Linked DNA regions of Homo sapiens: regions 1, 3 and 4 are each linked to region 2. Evidence: promoter capture Hi-C in 16 types of primary human blood cells and fetal thymus (Javierre and others, 2016). All regions are on one chromosome and are shown on one strand. Each heading gives the region's core, a stretch centred on a gene start or on the middle of the fragment in contact. The rest is flanking DNA. Distances are from core to core; before and after follow the strand shown.

Region 1 (3,368 bases), core at 101-2,600, 140 kb before region 2:
CCTGCCAGGTACTGTGCCAATACAGAGGAAGTAACAGTCAACAAGAAAGATTTGATTCCTCATGAAGCTTCGTGGCTTCAAGGGTTTCCTGTTTGTCAGAACCTTAAGGATATCTAAAATGTAAAGCAAACCTTCTTAATTTTCATTCATTCATTTACTCATTGAACACATATTTATCAATGGTGCTGTGCTGGCCTCTGGAAGTCACAATGTTCACTAAGACAAGGCAGTTACAATTCAGTTTAAATGTCATGGGAAGGCAAGTACTGTGTGCCAGTGGAGGCTGTAGGAAGGGCCCTGTGATAGCATAACTTGTCCACAAATTATCTGATACTCCTCTCCATTGAGGGGAAATGTCTATGTCCCCTCCCCTTGAATCTAGGCTGGTTCTGACACTGTGCTTACCAGTAAAATATGACGGAAGTGATGCTTCACCCAGACTGTAAAGAAGTAGCAATATTCTTTCTTAGAATACTTGTTCTAGGGGAAGCTAGCTCCCATGTGAATAGATACATCCTGAGAGTACCATGTTGTGAGGAACCTCAAGCTAGCTTAGAAAAGGATATGGGGAAAGAGAGGCCAAGCAAGCTTTAGCTATTCCAGTCATTCCAGCCAGGTGCCAACATCTGAGTAAAACAGCTATCTTGGATATTTTATGTTGGATTGAAAGTCCTCCATGGATAGCATTTAGTCTGAGACCCAAAGGATGAGAATGATTTTGATATACAAGGACCAAGTGGAGGATTATTCCAGGCAGCGGAGTGGGATTATACAAAGATCCAGAGTTGGCGAAGCTCCTGGAGTGTTCAAGGAGCTGAGAGTAGGTTTTAAAATGGTGGTATAGAGGTGAGCTGGCTACATTATCATCAACCCCCACAGAAAACCAAAAATATATATACAGTACCAAAGTTTTTGCCAGCAACAACCCAGGACTCAAATGTGAAGATGAGATAGATCTTGAGGTCATGGAGAAGTGAAAAACCTCTGAGCAAAGGATGGGAGAATTTACCTACCATCTAGGCTCTGAGGATGCCCTTCCCCACAACCCACATTCTTCCCGGCAACAAGTGTGCAGGTAATTTTACCCAATTCACAGTTCCTACACTGGAAAAAGTGAGATTGAGGTGATCATCCAGCTTTCCCACTATCTTAGGTTGCCTGGCAGGAGACCTGTCCTTGCCTTAACCCATGGGAAGTGATTGCCTGAAGGAAGAAATATCCCTAAGGACAGGCAGAGACAAAGGGAGGAGGAGGGACTAGCATCCTGAGCCCTGGAAAGTCTGCTCTGTAACTTGGCCAAAGGAGATGCCAAATCAGGTAGCTGTTAAGCAGCAGTACCCTGTAGGAGGTACATTTCATAGGTCCATTGGGCATGAACCCCTAGCCAGCCTTCCCACACTGCTGGGATAATTCCTTTGAAATTTAACCCCATCCAGGACAGGCAGTGCTCCACTCATTAACTAGAGTCAAAGCAAACCTGGGCTTAAGGCACAAGGCTTAGAACCAAAAAGGGAGCAGTGATCTAACAGTATTTGCTGAGCAAATATATCCAAAGAAACAAAACAAACCAGAGAAAACTAGAATAAATAATTAATCCTTTATTGCAAAGACATTGTCATACATCCACAAGAAACAAAGCAAACTGGGAACTATGACCTCCCCTAAAAGGACAAAACAAAAGTTCAGTCACTGACCCTAACAAGACAGTGATTCGTGAGCTCTCTGATCAAGAATTCATAATAGCAGTCTTGAGGAAACTTGGTGATCTCCAAGATAACACAGAAAAGCAATTCAGAAATGTATTGAGAAAATTTAACAAAGAGATTGAAATTTTTAAAAAATCAAATGGAAATCTTGGAACTGAGAAATACGTTTTCTGAACTGAAAAACTCATTGGAAGCTCCTAACAGCAGAATGGACAAAGCAGAGGGAAAAAAAATCAGTGAGCTTGAAGACCGGCTATTTGAAAATACACAGAGGAGACAAAAGAAGAAATAATGAAAAGGGATGAAGGCCTCCCACAAAAAATAGAAAATTACCTGAAAAGACCAAATCTAAGAATTATTGGTGTTCAAAAGAAAGCTGAGCAAGAGCAATGGGTAGAAAGCTTATTCAAAGAATAATAGAAAAGTTTCCAAAACTTGAAAAAGATATAAATATCCGAGTATAAGAAGGTCGGAAAACATGAAACAGATTGAACCCAAATAAGACTTTCCCAAGGCATATAAGAATCAGACTCTCAATGGTTACAGACAAAGAAAGGATCCTAAAAGCAGCAAAAGAAAGGAAGTAAATTGGCATATAATGGAGCTCTAAATCATCTGGCAGCAGGTTGCTCAACAGAAACCACGCAGGCTAGGAGAGAGTAGAACAACATTTTCAAAGTGCTCAAAGAAAAAAAAAACTGCCATATGAGAATACTGTACCCAGAAAAATTATCCTTCCATAAGAAGGAGAAAGAAAGTCGTTCCCAAACAAACAAAAGCTGAGAGAATTCACCACTATCAAGGAGGTGAGAGTCAACTAATATGGCTGGAGCATGTAGAGTAAGGGGGCGAGGCAAAAATTAGGTTGGTGAGAAAAACAGGGACCAGATCAGGCAAGGCCTTGTCAGCCATGCTAAGGCATGTAAATTTTGTCCTAATTACAATGGAAAGCTCTTAACCATTTTGAATATAAAAGCAGTATGATCTATATTAAAATCATAAGAGGATCCCTGTTGCAGCTATGCCAGTTTTGTGATGCCAGCTCTGTAGCTTTGTTAAATACTCTATTTTTTGGCAGCTATTATAAAAGGGGTTGAGTTCTTGATTTGATTCTCAGCTTGGTCGCTGTTGGTGTATAGCAGAGCTACTGATTTGTGTACATTAATTTTGTATCCCGAAACTTTGTTGAATTCATTTACTAGTTCTAGGAGCTTTTTGGAGGAGTCTTTAGAGTTTTCTAGGTAAACAATCATGTTATCAGCAAACAGCAACAGTTTGATTTCCTCCTTACTGGTTCGGATGCCCTTTATTTCTTTCTCTTGTCTGATTGCTCTGGCTATGACTTCCAGCACTATGTTGAATAGAAGTGGTGAAAGTGGGCATCCTTGTCTTTCTTGTTCCAGTTCACAGGGGGAATGCTTTCAACTTTTCTGCATTCACTGTAATGTTGTCTGTTGGTTTGTCATAGATGGCTCTTATTACCTTAAGGCATGTCCCTTCTATGTCGATTTTGCTGAGGGTTTTAATCATAAAGGAATGCTGGATTTTGTCAAATGCTTTATCTTCATCTATTGAGATAATCATGTGGGTTTTTTTAAATTCTGTTTATGTAGCGTATCACATTTGTTGACTTGTGGATGTTAAACCATCCCTGTATCCCTA
Region 2 (3,109 bases), core at 610-3,109:
TAACCCACCAGATAATTGTTGAAAGATCACCCCCTTACGAGTCTCCCAAGTAGACTGAAAATAATAACTACAAGAGATTATTTAGCAGTAAATTACAGCTGATCTACAGAAGTTCTTTAAAGCAAAAAAAAAAAAAAACAAAAAAAAAACACTACCATCTCATTAGAGTGACCAGAGATTCTAAATAGTCCAAGGAATCTTTGCAGGAGGAATAAAGATAAATTAGATAAATTATAGTATCAATTAACATTTATTGAGTGTTTATGTGCCAGGCACTGTTCTATGTGATTTACACGTGCTATCCCATTTATTTCTCAAAACAGCCCAGTGAATATATACCAAGATTATCCCCAGTTAGACAAAGGGTGACAAGAAGAATAAAATATTAACTATCTTCTGTTAATAAATTAACTACTACCAGCACCCTCATCATATATGTTTATCCAATTCTTTTAGTTCAAATGTTTATCTGTCTATACCCACTGACCTGATTCCCATATCCTAAAGCCCCTTCTCATCCTCTCCAACCTTATCAACTGCCATTACTGGCAGGTGCGTATGCACTAGACCTTATTTTTGGTAAATTTTAAAATAATCATAACTATCGTCTACTATATGCAAATCCCTGTTCTAAGTACTTTACGTATATTCAACTATTAATCATAACTGACATCAATATATGAGGTTGGTAAAATTATTATCTCAGTTTTCAGATGAGGAAACTGAGGCACACAGAGGTTACATAACTTGCCCAAAGTCATGTAGTTAGTGGCAGAGCCAGGATTTGAATCCAGCCAGTAAGCATTCAGAGTCCACACTCAGCCATTGTTTATACTGCTTTTGAAGCATATTAAGAATTAACTCTTAAAAGTCAAGAAATCTGTGCTATGTTTTGTTTCCTTTAACATTTGGTGCACAGGACATCACACTGCAAACACGGAGTGTATTCCACAACTCTCTAAGGTAAACAATAATAAAATAGAAATTTATCAAGCTTCCTTCATCTAGTAAATATTCTTTTTGTTGTAACACAAGTATGAAATTCTGAATAATTCAAACACTTCTATGCTTAGTCCCTGCTTACTTACTACAGAATTATTAAAGAATTACCCAAAAGTTCTTGGACTGGAAAGATGTGAAAAAGCCACTAACTCTATTTTCCTAGAATGAAGATGAAAAGAAGATGTGTTTAGGAACCTTCTCTGCTTCCCTAAAAGAACCCTAAAAACAGGAGTAAAAACAGTGAAGAAAACAAAGGACCTTCAAAGTGCACTCGTTAAAACCTAATAACTGTATTTCTATTACTAAATGTAGAAGTGGTAAACATCTTTAACAGGCAATGTCTCCCCTGCACTCTAGGGATTCAAAGATCCATCTTTCGGTTCTGTAAGACAGTCACGGCTTTTGTAACCTCGGTGCCCCCTTCAACCTCCCGCCCCAAGCACCTCCAGGGTCGTCAGGGGTGTAGTTTTGAGTCGCGCTCCTAAGCATCCAGACAGGCAGGACACCGTAACGACATCTCTGCCGGGAGTCCCTTCAGACTGCGGTCTCCAGGTAACCGCACTCCAACAGAAGCAGTTGTGCTTCCTATCGGGTCACCTGTTCAAAAGTCCCCAGGAGAGGCTCCAGCAATACCAGGGTAGCGGTTTGCCCGACACCGCTCCGGGCGCTGCAGCCTTCCGGCAACCCGGACGTTGGGTCGGTGTCAGCCACTCTCACCTCCCATTCCCTAGTTTTCCTCCTTTGCTCCCGTCTAGTCACTTCGCACCTTCGGCTAGTCTTTATTCACAGACACATTCCAGGAGTCCCCTCTCCCAGAGCAACAAAGACAGATTTCCAAAGCTACACATCCCAGAGAGAACGGATTCTTGGGAAATGTGGTTCTTTCAGCTGACGCATGGTGACTCTTTACGGAAAAGGACTACAATTCCCAGAAATCCTAGGGAGCATATAGTCCGTGGCTAAAACATGTCCCAGCTCCTTGGATGGAATGGCAGTAAAGGTTCTGTGGCTCTTTACTGACCTAACTCCTTGGATTTTCCTCATTCAGTCCCACTGCAAGCGTGTGGGAGGACTTAAAAAAATGCTATTCACATGTGAAGGAATCTAAATACGATGATTATATGAAGCGATCTCTAAGTCATTTTATTTTATAATTCTTTCAGACAAAAATCTACGTACCATCAGAAACTATGTCTCTGCAGATGGTAACAGTCAGTAATAACATAGCCTTAATTCAGCCAGGCTTCTCACTGATGAATTTTGATGGACAAGTTTTCTTCTTTGGACAAAAAGGCTGGCCCAAAAGATCCTGCCCCACTGGAGTTTTCCATCTGGATGTAAAGCATAACCATGTCAAACTGAAGCCTACAATTTTCTCTAAGGATTCCTGCTACCTCCCTCCTCTTCGCTACCCAGCCACTTGCACATTCAAAGGCAGCTTGGAGTCTGAAAAGCATCAATACATCATCCATGGAGGGAAAACACCAAACAATGAGGTTTCAGATAAGATTTATGTCATGTCTATTGTTTGCAAGAACAACAAAAAGGTTACTTTTCGCTGCACAGAGAAAGACTTGGTAGGAGATGTTCCTGAAGCCAGATATGGTCATTCCATTAATGTGGTGTACAGCCGAGGGAAAAGTATGGGTGTTCTCTTTGGAGGACGCTCATACATGCCTTCTACCCACAGAACCACAGAAAAATGGAATAGTGTAGCTGACTGCCTGCCCTGTGTTTTCCTGGTGGATTTTGAATTTGGGTGTGCTACATCATACATTCTTCCAGAACTTCAGGATGGGCTATCTTTTCATGTCTCTATTGCCAAAAATGACACCATCTATATTTTAGGAGGACATTCACTTGCCAATAATATCCGGCCTGCCAACCTGTACAGAATAAGGGTTGATCTTCCCCTGGGTAGCCCAGCTGTGAATTGCACAGTCTTGCCAGGAGGAATCTCTGTCTCCAGTGCAATCCTGACTCAAACTAACAATGATGAATTTGTTATTGTTGGTGGCTATCAGCTTGAAAATCAAAAAAGAATGATCTGCAACATCATCTCTTTAGAGGACAACAAGATAGAAATTCGTGAGATGGAGACCCCAGA
Region 3 (3,503 bases), core at 916-3,415, 160 kb before region 2:
CTACTTCCTTCCCTCTACTTCCTACCATTGAGCTCTGATTAGATGACACTTCCCTAAGCCAGGAAGAAAAGTGTTTTGTAGGCAACCTCTGCTTCCACCTTGATGCAAACTCTCCTGAGGGAAGGAAACTTAGTGCCTGGACTCTTGCTTCAATGAGGAAATGAAAGAAGAAAATACAGGGAAAAGCACAAATTATAATGTCAAATATTATTGTGCTCTCAAAACAGTCCCTTCCCTCTTAGTCTTCTGAGGTCCTGCCATCTCTTTAGGCTCTTGCTGTTATAACAACTTCAGTCTTTCATCCCCTACTTCCTTCCCTCTACTTCCTACCATTGAGCTCTGATTAGATGACACTTCCCTAAGCCAGGAAGAAAAGTGTTTTGTAGGCAACCTCTGCTTCCACCTTGCACCTTGATGCAAACTCTCCTGAGGGAAGGAAACTTAGTGCCTGGACTCTTGCTTCAATGAGGAAATGAAAGAAGAAAATACAGGGAAAAGCACAAATTATAATGTCAAATATTATTGTGCTCTCAAAACAGTCCCTTCCCTCTTAGTCTCCATACAAGGATAAGCCCTCCTTTCTCTGCTGTGACAACAGCTAAACCCTGCTTTTCATGTTGGCAGAGTAGCAGGTGTCTTCTTGGTGAAAAGCGGACTTCAGGAATTCTCTACACCTGGACATCTCCCTTGCTCTGGTTCCTGATAGATTCCTTTTGACTTTAATTCTTTGAGAGAACAGCTTTGCCAATGCTTTTCAATGAAAATTTCATCCAACTTTAAAATATAAAATATATAAAACATGTTGCCTCTGTGGCTGAAGTAGAGGCAGGCACCCCATTCTCAGCCACCACTGGGTACTGCCATCCTCACCTTATTCACCCTGCCACACACACACACACACACACACACACACACACACGCAGAGTCATCCCTCCTAAAATCCCTAGATTAACCACCTCATGCTGGTTTGCCCAGGGCTTTCCAGGATTTAGCACTGTGTGTTCTATACTCTGGAAAACACCAGTTCCACGTACACTGGGATGGTCAGTCTCCCACACAACCCTAAACACACTTCCATAATGGTTTGAAAATCACTGATTTAGAAACAATGCATTGACTCATCAATACAGGGCACATGTTTAGTTACTATTGGTTATTGCAGATTAGTATAAATTAGTTTATCAACTAACTTTCCAAGTGGAGGCAGGTGGAAAAGGGGATTTGATGAAGAGAAAGAAGAGCTTGGCCACTTCATGGCATGCCTTGTTGGCGCTCTCATCAGAGTCAAATTCATTCACAAGGTTCTAGCCCCCAGGACCCTGCAGGGATGCACTAGCTGAACACCTCTGTAATTTAAGTGGTACCTGGATCCATGCCTGCCTCAACAGGAAGAAATGTGAGAAGGCTGGAACAAGATGCTCCCAATTCCTATACCCACTCCTTCCCTAAGCAGTGTGTTCTCTCCTCATATTAGGAAACAGGTAATCAGGGTTGCAGAGCAGACTGAAACTAAAGCCCATGCAGAGAGCAAACTTCAGACCTTGACTTCATTAGAATAGCGCTCTAACCAAACTAAGCAGCCTCAGAGAAGCCTGCATAATTGACTTGGAAACACGTTCAGGCACAGGAGTCTCTCACAGCAGCTGGAATCAAGGCCCAAACCAGAGAACAAGTGCCCAGAAGAGAAAGGGACTGTTCAAAGATACCCAGATGATCCCCTGTCTTGGCAAAGTTGTCCAGGTGCTCATGCAGCTTTAATGAAGCCCAATTCTAATTAATCTGTGACCTTATTCAAACCAACTGTTTCCTCGTGCCTCGAATGCCTCTCCAGATTCAGATGCCCTTTCCCTCAAGTGGAACGCAAAGGCCTGTTTTCTTAATAAGTTTAATTGAAAGATGGCTGAACCATGGGTCTCTCATAAACAGGGAATTCCCCACCAATAGGAGTTGCAGAACAGAGAGGTGTCAAAGATGTGGCAGAGACATAATTCAGCTTCTACAACCAACATTGATGAAAGGCTGGCTTCAGCCTGTCTCTTCCGTCAACAGCCCATCAGACACTTGGCAAATCAAAAGCAGCACGTTGTGTTTAGAATGGACACACTCGTGGAGGCAGCAAGGAGACTGTGGAGAGATGGATTGAGACCATGAAGGCAGGTAAGAGAGGTGCAGTCCAAAGAAGGGAGCAGCAGTGAAAGGGTTAAAATCTACCTGCTGCCCTCTAAACCAGAGTATCAGGGCATCTTTTGTGCTACAAAGGGCTTCCAGGTGTCCCAGATGTTGAGCCCCTTACTTAGGCTCTGAGCAATCTTCTTCATTTCCCCAATATGCTATAGGATTGTAATCATCATTATGTGTGCTATGTTAAATGATGTTAAAAGTGTTGGGAAGCACTGATATAAAGCATTACTTCTCTGTCTCTGATTCCTGCCTCCTAAAAACTGCATCTGTTCTTCTTTTCTATCAGAACAAATACCCGCATCAACCAAAACTAACCAATGGGGTATAGAAAACGCGGGCAGCACTGAGGCCTCACCATCCCTGTAAGATATTCTGAGTGGATTTGAATGTATGTCACTCTCCCCAAAATCTTCTAATCCAAACACTTACATGGCTTCCTGTTTTCCTTAGGATAAAGATCAAAGTCCTTACCAGGGTTTGGAGGGCTGCCCAGAGTCTGACTTCTTGTGGCAGCAAGGAGCCTTAGTTACTCACAAAGGAGCCCACTCTACCTGGACTCAGCAACGTGTCTCATCCTTCACTTCATTTGATCCTCTCATACTCCGTCAAAAAGATTATTTCCTTCCCGTTGCACCAAGTTGCTAGTCCAGCCTGTGTGAGCACCTAGCTCTGGGATCCATCCAGCTAGAAGGAAGAGGATATATAGGATGCTGTCGTTGGCATTTTCCAGATGCTACTCTGACAGGGATGGAACTGTGCAACCTCTTTGTGAAGAAGCATTGGCCTTGCCTGTCAAAAGCAGCATTTGCCATATAGTCGCTCAGGGTCTGTGTCACAGGATCCTTAGGTCAGGAACTTTCCTCTAACTGTTGGCTGGGGAAAGGGTTACCTCGCTGCAAAATTGAGAAATGGATATTTGTCTCTTTTGTTGTCTTTTTCCTCTACTTCCTCTCCTGATGCCTGTTTGTGCCTTTTCCCAGTCCCAGACACCTGATCATCATTCTCAGTAAACTATTGCAAGGACAAAAAACCAAACACCGCATGTTCTCACTCATAGGTGGGAATTGAACAATGAGAACACATGGACACAGGAAGGGGAACATCACACTCTGGGGTCTGGTGTGGGGTGGGGGGAGGGGGGAGGGATAGCATTAGGAGATATACCTAATGTAAGTGATGAGTTAATGGGTGCAGCACACCAGCATGGCACATGTATACGTATGTAACTAACCTGCACATTGTGCCCATGTACCCTAAAACTTAAAGTATAATAATAATAAAATAAAATAAATAAAAAAATAAGATAAAATAAATCCAATTCC
Region 4 (3,389 bases), core at 123-2,622, 250 kb after region 2:
TGATATTTTAAAAAAAAAAAAACAACATAAAACTTATTTCTACATTGTAAAAAGAGCATGGGCTTTAGAACCAAATGCCCTAGATCTATATTCTGACTGTGTCCTTGGATAGGTGACTTAAGCTTTCCAGACCTGTTTCCTCAACAGTAAGTGGAGGTAATAATAGCATTTACATCACGGCGTCATTGCGAGAATCACATACCTTATGTACGTATACTTAGTTTCTTTTTGGTAAGTGATGGAAACCACTATAAAGGCTGATGGGTGAAAGTTAGCTGCTCTTCTACCACCTGAGAGCAAATCTCAGACCAAATCTTCCACACTACCAACATCTGCTCAACTTTTAGAGTGAGCAGAAATAATGTGGTTCCTACAGCCTTTACTGCGTGCTCAGTGAAGTCTTTGTTCACTGTCTTTTTAGCTGTTCAGGCCAACCTCCACCTTGCATGAAAGGGTCCCCAAGGTAAGTGAAACCATATTTCAGAGGCAAGGTTGTGAGACCTTTACAGACAGCCTCAGGCAACAAAGAAATCCTCTAAGTAGCTAGATGGAGGAACTTACAAAGGTCAAGGCGTCTTATATACTTTTCACACAGGGTAGACACTAACAATACTTTTTGTCTAATCTGCAAATCTTGCATATCACTCACTGAGAGTACATGTACTCCCTTACAGATGTTGAACTAGAATTTGTCTCTCTTTTCTGTTTTTTTAACATTTGAAACAATTCTGAATGCATTTCTGATCAACATGGAATTCTGATACAAATCACACAAGCCAGTCACATCTTGGTCCTGAAGGAATCATTCTGGGGTCTTTGCCCAGCTGCCTTTGAGATCGTCAGCCCTTCATGCTAAATTGTGAATCCCCATAAGCTGCCAATCACTTTAAGAATCGCTTTTGCAAAACCATGATCTCCTCGAAACATCAAATTGTTCTTGCCTTTCAATTTAACAATTCACTTATTGAAGTCTGTTCTAAAGCAGTTCTATCCAGTGCCCAGCATGCAGTCCCTGGTGCATCACCAGTATTTTTTTAAATGCCTGCAGGTTTTAAGGAGAGACTATGAGAAAAAAACAATGTGCCAAAGTGACACATGAATTAATTTTTTCCCATTTCTTTCTAAAGTGCGGCTATATTTAAAGGGAGAAGAAGACTGGATTGTAAAGGGTCTCTGGTCAGAACACTGAGAGGAAAGAGTCAGCCCTGACCCTGAAGTTCCTAGGACCAGAAAGGGTGCCCCATCCCACCCGTTTCCAAGTCTCGCTGAACCTCAAGGGATCCTAGAAGGAGGCCTGCTTGGGTGTTCTGAGAGTTCTCCATTCAGGGTGGTTTTATCAGAGAAATTGAACCAGAAAGTACTCTGCTCAGATAACAGGATTAATTAACATTCTTCTCATTCTTCAAACAACTGATCAGTGTGGAATACCACCCATGTCTTACTGGAGGTAGACCTGGCACACATAGAGCTGCCTGAGACTCTCCTGGGATTTCTCGAAGTCATTTCTTTCTCCTGAACCCTAGGCTTCCCTAGGGATAATGTATAATAATAACACTCCCCTTTGTTCTTATGGGGCATATTTCGCCCCCGTCTGCCCTACTGATCTCCAGCTTTATATTTCCAGGTTAGTGTTGATAGACCAAAGCCAGCCTACATAATAAAGATAATGGTGATAATAATACGGTTTATAGAAACTTCTCTACAGACTGGTACTAGGCTAAGCACTTGGTGTTCACCAATTCACCCTTAGTTGAGCCTTCATGGAGTGCGGAGTAGGACATGGGGAGTGCCTCAGCTCCCTCTGCCGACCCACCTTGAGTCTGCTGTATCCTCCCAAAAAGATCTGCCTCCATCAAGACGTTCAGAAACAATGGCTACTTTGCTGAAGACGTTATGCAGAGACGGGCTTGTAGATGGAATCACAGCGTGGACCAAACAGTAGGTACTTTGAAACATTTCCATTAGCTGTCCAATGTCCACCCAACATTTCTTTCCGCTTCCAGTTGTCTCTTCGTTTCTCCTGTTCTCTTCCCCACCTTTGCCTCTTTAATTCCCTTGGATATTCCAGAGCCATTAAGCACTGGCTCTCACCTTGCAAAGCCCACCTGACATCTCAGCTTCTGGAAAACCAGGTAAACACCACAGAGCCCAACGACTTGACCTCAAGCTCTTGTCTTGTGAGGAGGGGGTTCTTAGCAAATTCTGGCCACTATTATTATCTGATATAACCCTTACAACATTTATGAGAGGCAAGAGCTCTGTACTGTTATTGTTCCCATTTTGTGCAGCAAGAAACAAGCTCATGGTCACTTGGCCAGATTCAGAATTGGGAGCTCCAGAGCTGTGGGTGGTCTTAATGGCTCTGCTTACTGTGACGGCATGTCCCATTGAGCTCCAGATAGTTCCAATTGAAGCCTGTGTTCTTCACTCTCAAAGCACTCTGGTCTGGAATCCTATGATCATCTTAACTATGTATGCTAGAGGCTTGTCCATTGTTACATCCACAGCACCTGGCATATCGAAGTACCCAGTGAATATCTTCAGCTCTCAGGTTGGTCTTTGGACAGCCGTCACCCCCTTGAACCAGCCATATTCCCTTTGCCTCTGAATTATAGAAGCTTTCAAATGAAATTCTGACTTGAGCCAAGCGTATAGAGGGCTCACTTTCCCATGGCTGCCAGGCAAGTAACCCTGCCCCCAAATTAATCTCTCTCTGTGTGACAGGCTCCATTTATCATGTTGTGGACTCTGCAGCACAGGGAGGCTCAGGAAGGATGGGCGACCACCGTGGATATTGGCATAAAGGCCAGTATGCTTACTTAGTCCAGCACCATGTTTCATATCTGCCTCTCCATCTGCCTGCCTTTCCCGGAGAGAATCTGGGATGGAGATGGATTACATTTGTTTATGGGCTTATGTTTCAAATGAGAGTTGGACGGAGGCTTAATAGAATTAATTAATTCCCTCTGTTCCATGAGAGATAGAAGAAAGCTCTCTCTACCACAGCTGGCTCTGAGATGGCCCCAGAGTCACTGCTAGGTGTTCAGCTGGGATCCTTTGATTGCCCCCATCTCTAGTGCAAGTTCAACTTTGTTTAGAGCAATAAAGAAAAACAGTCTTTCCCTGCTTGCATGTTATTTGTATAGGAAATCAGCTCTGGGGTTTTTGTAGTTTTGATGTGTCAGCTTCAGGCAGCACAGGGGGCAGGGGCAGTTTCCTCCCTGCTTCTCTCTCCTTTTAGAGCAGAGACACAAATTCCATTCTCTGTATTGAGAGGTAACAGTGCAGAGCTTCAAAGCAAAGACTCTGAAGCCAGAATGCCAGGGTGTGAGTCCCAGACATTTCACTACTAGTGTGGCCCCAGTTCCCTCATCTGCAAAGTGGTGCCA

The links. The method cuts DNA at HindIII sites, captures the fragments that hold promoters and counts their contacts. A CHiCAGO score of 5 or more calls a contact.
Region 1: a contact is called between a fragment that was not itself captured here and the fragment with the promoter of IFTAP in region 2, in 1 of 17 cell types (fetal thymus). The highest score is 5.7, in fetal thymus.
Region 3: a fragment that was not itself captured here is called in contact with the fragment with the promoter of IFTAP in region 2 in 1 of 17 cell types (fetal thymus); the score reaches 7.3 in fetal thymus.
Region 4: a fragment that was not itself captured here is called in contact with the fragment with the promoter of IFTAP in region 2 in 1 of 17 cell types (fetal thymus); the score reaches 5.3 in fetal thymus.

The regions. Positions count from the first base shown.
Region 1 is chr11:36,735,163-36,738,530 of GRCh38, reverse strand. All of the region lies in intron 3 of LOC107984326 (a long non-coding RNA gene), which reads right to left. Among named protein-coding and RNA genes, the nearest start is that of RAG2, 140 kb to the right of the region's middle. The HindIII fragment of the contact is 1,519 bases long and covers 591-2,109 here.
Region 2 is chr11:36,593,252-36,596,360 of GRCh38, reverse strand. IFTAP (intraflagellar transport associated protein) reads right to left here and starts at 1,859. Exons shown (of 6, transcript NM_138787.4): 1 at 1,769-1,859. RAG2 (recombination activating 2) reads left to right here. Exons shown (of 2, transcript NM_000536.4): 2 at 2,166-3,109. The coding sequence starts at 2,193. RefSeq lists an enhancer at 1,813-1,952. The HindIII fragment of the contact is 5,310 bases long and covers 997-3,109 here.
Region 3 is chr11:36,753,306-36,756,808 of GRCh38, reverse strand. All of the region lies in intron 3 of LOC107984326 (a long non-coding RNA gene), which reads right to left. Among named protein-coding and RNA genes, the nearest start is that of RAG2, 160 kb to the right of the region's middle. The HindIII fragment of the contact is 6,169 bases long and covers 1-3,503 here.
Region 4 is chr11:36,340,539-36,343,927 of GRCh38, reverse strand. All of the region lies in intron 1 of PRR5L (proline rich 5 like), which reads right to left. Among named protein-coding and RNA genes, the nearest start is that of PRR5L, 46 kb to the right of the region's middle. The HindIII fragment of the contact is 2,496 bases long and covers 125-2,620 here.